Linked DNA regions of Homo sapiens: region 1 is linked to region 2. The links are contacts of gene promoters, found by promoter capture Hi-C in blood cells and fetal thymus (Javierre and others, 2016). All regions are on one chromosome and are shown on one strand. Each heading gives the region's core, a stretch centred on a gene start or on the middle of the fragment in contact. The rest is flanking DNA. Distances are from core to core; before and after follow the strand shown. Region 1 overlaps LINC00620 (long intergenic non-protein coding RNA 620). Region 2 holds the start of SLC6A6 (solute carrier family 6 member 6).

Evidence for each region. Contacts are between HindIII fragments. The CHiCAGO score rates a contact against its expected background, and 5 or more counts as called.
Region 1: a contact is called between a fragment that was not itself captured here and the fragment with the promoter of SLC6A6 in region 2, in 1 of 17 cell types (total CD4 T cells). The highest score is 7.5, in total CD4 T cells.

What each region holds. Positions count from the first base shown.
Region 1 is chr3:13,656,507-13,659,250 of GRCh38, forward strand. All of the region lies in intron 1 of LINC00620 (long intergenic non-protein coding RNA 620), which reads left to right. Among named protein-coding and RNA genes, the nearest start is that of LINC00620, 7.2 kb to the left of the region's middle. The HindIII fragment of the contact is 1,196 bases long and covers 886-2,081 here.
Region 2 is chr3:14,401,242-14,403,941 of GRCh38, forward strand. It overlaps SLC6A6 (solute carrier family 6 member 6), which reads left to right and starts at 1,365. Exons shown (of 15, transcript NM_003043.6): 1 at 1,365-1,606. LOC105376959 (a long non-coding RNA gene) reads right to left here and starts at 1,166. Exons shown (of 8, transcript XR_007095825.1): 1 at 1-1,166. RefSeq lists enhancers at 789-838, 849-1,018, 2,339-2,398, 2,469-2,548 and a silencer at 1,159-1,688. The HindIII fragment of the contact is 4,510 bases long and covers 1-2,584 here.

The DNA of each region.
Region 1 (2,744 bases), core at 234-2,733, 740 kb before region 2:
GGATGGGGTGTAGCACACATAGGTGCTTAGCAAACATGGGGAGGAGTCTCCCCTACTTTATCACACAGCAAGGGAGGCTTTCATGGGGAGACTGGGCCGGCTGTCTCCTTCTTCCCAGGAGAGAGTGATGACAACAGCTGTCGGGCCATCCTCGAAAGGTGCTGGGCAGGTGGAGGGCAGCCCTCGGTGCCCCTGGTTGTCCCCTGAGCCATCCATCCCTCTTCCCTGCTGTGGCTTCCATGCCCTGAGCAGCAAGTGGGAGGTGAACAGTAGTTGGAGAGGGGGCAGGTGGGCACACCAGGTGTGGGTGCTTATGAAGGCACAGATTCAGAGCAGGGACAGGTTCAACATCAGTGAGATGGGGGCTTTGTGACCATCTTCAGTAGCCTCGCACTGTACCTACATGGAACTGAAGCAGAGGAGGATAAGGGACTTGCCCAAAGCCACATGGCCAGACAGAGGTGTGTAGGACGAAGTGGGCCAAGCCCGTATGTCTCTTGCATGAGCAATGTCCATGCCTGATTCATTTCTATAGACCCCTCTGTATCAGCATGGAGCAGCATGAAGATATATTTGTTGAGTGGATGACTGTGTCTGTCAGGCCACATTACCAAAGGTCTATACTTGCAACGAGGGAGGGGACATCCAGTTTTGCTTTATTCTCTGAGCTCTCTGGCTCCTATGCTCAGCTCCAGACACATCAGTGGACCCTGAGATGAACAGCAAGCCCTGGAGACAGCATTCTGTCAGGAGATGGGGTGGCTCAGCTTGGAGGGGGTCCCCACTGCTGTCCCTAATTCTCTGCAGGGTTGTCCTGGGGCAGAAGGGTTAGGAGGAGCTGGTAGATCTGTGGGCAGGACCGGGACCTTGGGAAGACAGGTCCCAAGCTTATGAAGAAGTCTCCCAGTTTTACTCATAGCTGCCGTATGGGGGTGAACAAGTTGGGACAGCTATTTAGTGGAAATGTTCATGCAGTTATTTTTCCAAAAGTCTTTATCGGTCACCTACTGTGTGCCAGACACTGGAGCTGATATTATTTTACTGGAGAATTTGATAGTCAACAAATAAACAAATCGATAGTATGACATTAGATGGAGACAAGTAGGAAGATGAACAACAAAGCAGGACTGGGGTCAGAGGGCACCAGCGAGGGGCCTTGGTTAGACAGCGGGGCTGCCATTGGGCGGGAAATGGGATGATGTGAAAAGCGAAGCGAAGAGTGCGCCAGGCAGAGGGACCTGCAGGAGCAAAGGCTGGGAAGTGGGAATGTGCTGACAAGAGGCGTGGCTGGAGTGTAGTGAGCGAGACTCCCGGGCAGTACTGTGCCCTGCACCCCAGTGCCCTCTTGCCTTCTGCCCGGTGCAGTCACCCCTTCCTTACTCAAGCCCGTTCCACAGCCCCAAAGCTCCACGGCCCCAAAGCTCCACAGCCCCAGAGCTCCACAGCCCCAAAGCTCCACAGCCCCAGAGCTGCGTGGCTCCGGAAGGCTGCGTCAACCCCAGCGACCACACGGAGGCAGCAGAGAACACGGCTGGGACGAGGGCGGAGGGTGAGGACTGAATCTGAGCACCCTGGGGACTCCCAGGTAGCCGGGGCTGGAGACAGGACCCCTCCCTTGCTGCTTCTTTGTACCCAGCATCACATCTCTCTTCGAAAGTTCCTCCCTCCTAAGCAGCATGAACAGTGCCTGCTGAAATTACAGCTCCACTCCACTGCTCTGGAAGGCTCATCTCTTCAAGCCTCCATGCCTGCATCTGTGAAGTGGCAGCAAGCAGAGTTTCATCTCTAGGGGGGTACATCGCAAGTGCTCGGGAACGTTGTCTTCTTGCAACCATGTGTGCCTCACACAACTACCTGTGTGACTTTGGGCAACTCCCTGAGTCTCAGTTTCCACCCTCGTAAAGTGATGGTAGGACTATGGTGTGGGGATCTTCTGTATGCCAGGTACACATGCATAATGCATGCACAGATCCTGGCACTTAGTCAATGCCCAGTGACAATAACTAGTAATCATGACAATTGCATTGATGACCTGGGGGCTTAGAGTCGGGAGAGACCTGCTATTCGGAGGAGAACATTGAAGCTTGGGAAGAAGAGGTGTTTGCCCACCATATACTCACCAGGAATGAGAGGCCCAGGGGTCCCCTCAAGACTTTTGTCCATTTGACAGATGGGGACGCTGAGGTCGGGAGAGGGTTGGCAGCCTGGCCAAGGCCACCCTGTGGCAGGCATAGGACTAGAATCCAAGATGCCTGCTTCCCTTCACGGCTCATCCAACCATGTCTTGGGGCCCTCCCTTCTAGGGCAGGTGGTTTCTCAGGCTGCAGCTCCGGATGTTCCTTTTTCTTCTCCAACCTCCCCCCGCCCACACCCATGCCAGACTGTGTAATCTTGGAAAGCTGCATTCTTGGAAATCTGGTCCCTTCTAGTCTTTGAATTCTTCGAACTTCCTATTGGAGCTGCGGCCCCTAGTTCCCGATGGTGCCTGGGAGGGAGCCTCCTGATTTTGATGTTTTTCAGAGGGAATGAGGTGTTTCCAGTAGGTGGGCAGCCCAGGGTGGGTGGGTGGAGGTGGCAGTGTGGATGGCAGTTGGATGCAGAGAGGAGGAAGGGGACTTGGGGGGGCACCTGTGAGCCCCCTTCCACGGGACTTTTCCCCGGGGTGCACTTTCCCCCTTGGCTTGGAGAGGAAACAGTTTTCCATGTTCCTTTCTCTCTGTGTGCTTGGGAGACACCCACAGCCC
Region 2 (2,700 bases), core at 115-2,614:
AGCATCCTGGGGCTGTACAGGGAGAGTGGCTGCAGAGCCCTTCCAGGCAGGGATCCTGGCCTGAGTGGGGGCAGCTCTTGGTCGGACCTGTGTGGTATTTCTTCTTCTTCTTCTTTTTTGTTTTTTTGAGACTCATTCTTGTCACCCAGGCTGGAGTGCAGTGGCGTGATCTCGGCTCACTGCAACCTCCGCCTCCCGGGTTCAAGGGATTCTCCTGCCTCAGCCTCCTGAGTAGCTGGGATTATAGGCACCCGGCACCACGCCAGGCTAATTTTTGTACTTTTAGTAGAGACGGAGTTTCGCCATGTTGGCCAGGCTGGTCTCGAACTCCTGACCTCAGGTGATCTGCCCCCTCGGCCTCCCAAAGTGCTGGGATTACAGGCATGAGCCACCGCGCCTGGCCGGTATTTCTTCTTTCATTCTCCGTGTAAATGGTGGAAGGATCGGCTCTCTCCTCCCCGCCTCCCAGGTGCAGAGAGAGAGAGAGAGAGAGAGGGACAGGAGAAGGCTGGGGTTCGGGGTTCTCACAGCGTTTCCCTCTCATGCTGCCAGGGCGGGGCAGTGGAAAATGGTCCCTGAGGGCCCGTTCATTCAAATAAGGACAAGAATAATGGCACACTCCCCATCTCCATTTAAAAATAGTCACATTAGCTGACACTGGCTTGGCACTTCCTAGATGCCGGGTGCGTTCCGAGTTCTCTACGCTGTTAACCTTGGATCTTCATAACAGCCGGAGGAGACAAGCGCTACTATTTTCCTTTCCATTTTATAGATGAGGACACTGAGGCAGAGAAATTGAGTCACTTGCCCAGGGTCACACAGCCATGGCAAGGCCAGGATTCTGGAGCTCTGTACCTGGCTTCACACCACAAGCTCAGGCCACCCTCCCGGGGCATACCGAGTCTCCCAGAACGTGGACGATCGCCCAGGGCAACGCAGTGGAGTGCGAGCCCGGTCTGGTTTGCACCTGGCTGCTCCAGGAGCCCTGGGCCTCATCCTAGGAGCCTGGCGGAAGAGGCGAGCGGTGGAGTTTGGAGGCTGCTGTGAAGGAAAGGACTAGGCGGGTCGGGTCGGGTCTGTCCTGCTCTTCTTCCGCAGGCAGGAGGCGCCCAGGGCGGGCTGCCGCACCTGGCAACGAACGTTCGCCGCGCGGCATGAGGGTGTGCGCGCGCGCTCGGCGAGCCCGGGTTCTTTGTGTGTCCGAGCCCATGCGCGCGTGCGTGTTTGCGTGTATGTGTGTGCATGTGTATGTGTGCGCGCGTGTGTCCGCACTTGGGGCGGGGCTGGAAGCCCCGGCCCCGCCCCGGCCCCGCCCCCGGCCCGGCCGAGCTGGTATTTTTCCACCCAGCAGGATGGGTGATGCTGAGAGCTGCCTGCTCAGACAACAGACACGCGAGGTCAGGAAGAAGCCGCTTATAAATTACCGCTTCCTTCGCGCCGCCGCCAACGCCGAGCCCCGAGGACCGCAAGCCCAGAGGACAAGCTGCGCCAAGAGGGAGTGCGGAGCGTTCACCCAGCGGGTCAGAGAGCGAGCGGGCAGGCAGCCCCCGGCCGGCGGAACCCGGCACAGCCGAGCAGAGCGCGGGCGGCGCCGCAGCCACCCCAGGTACCGGAGGGACCGGGAGCTGGGCGCGCAGCCGGCGCTGCCCGCCGTCTGCAGCCCCTCCCCATCCCCGCGTCGCCGCAGTCCCGGCCTCCTCCCCTCCGCGTGCGCCCATCCGGCGCCCCTTTCACCACCGCGGAAGGGACCGAGAGTCGCCTGCTCAGTCCCGCTGGCGGGGCTGTTATTGTTTCCCCGGCAAAAGGGCTCCGGCTCTTGGTGCGGGCGGCAGGAGAGTGTGTGTGTGTGTGTGTGTGTGTGTGTGTGTGTGTGTGTGTGTGTGGCATATCTGTGTGCCTGTCTCCGTCAGGATGCCTACATGTGCCTCCGTATCCCTGTGTCTGTGTTTCTGAGGGTGACTGTTTCACCGTGTCCCCAGCAGCGTGCACATGTGTGTTCCGGTGCATGTCTGTTATTCTCTGCGTGCTGGGCTGTGTGTGTGTGCCTCTCTGTGTGTGATACCTGAGTGTGCTGTCTTTGGATGTGTGCTCTTGTGTGTCCCCGTTTGTGTCTGCATGAATCTGTGTGTGGGGGGCTGCGTCTTCCAGGCCCTGGCTAGGTGCACGTGCGTGTCCCTGAGTGTGGTTGTGTCTCCAGGTCCCTGGTTGTGGGCACTCGTGTGTCCTCGGCTGTACCCAAGAGGGTGTCCCTGGTGCCTAGAGGGTCCAATGGCCAGAGCTGGTTCTCCAGGGCCGGCGCTGAGTGGGGAGAGGTGATAGGGCAGCGTGGCTCCATAGGTGCATGCACTCCATAGGTGGTGTGCAGGTGGCAGCGCCAGCGTCCAGCAGTCCTGAGTGGTGGGACCAAGGCCCGGAGGGGCAGCCAAGGGGTAGTGGACAGCCGGCAGGGCCAGCAGGACACTTCCCCCTCCAGACTATTTCTCTTCCTTCTGTGGGTTCCTCTTTTGAGTAGGAGATTCTCGTCCCCCTCCCACTAGGGAAGCCACACAGAGAGAATTCCAGGGACCTCCTCCTACAGCCTCAAAGCTTCAGCCTGGACTTCAGCCTGGACTGGAGAGGAGACCTGTGGGCAGCTCTCCCAGGCAGGGAGGTGTGTGCCGGGTAGGGCCACCGGCCTGGCTATTTTGGTCACTGTTGGGC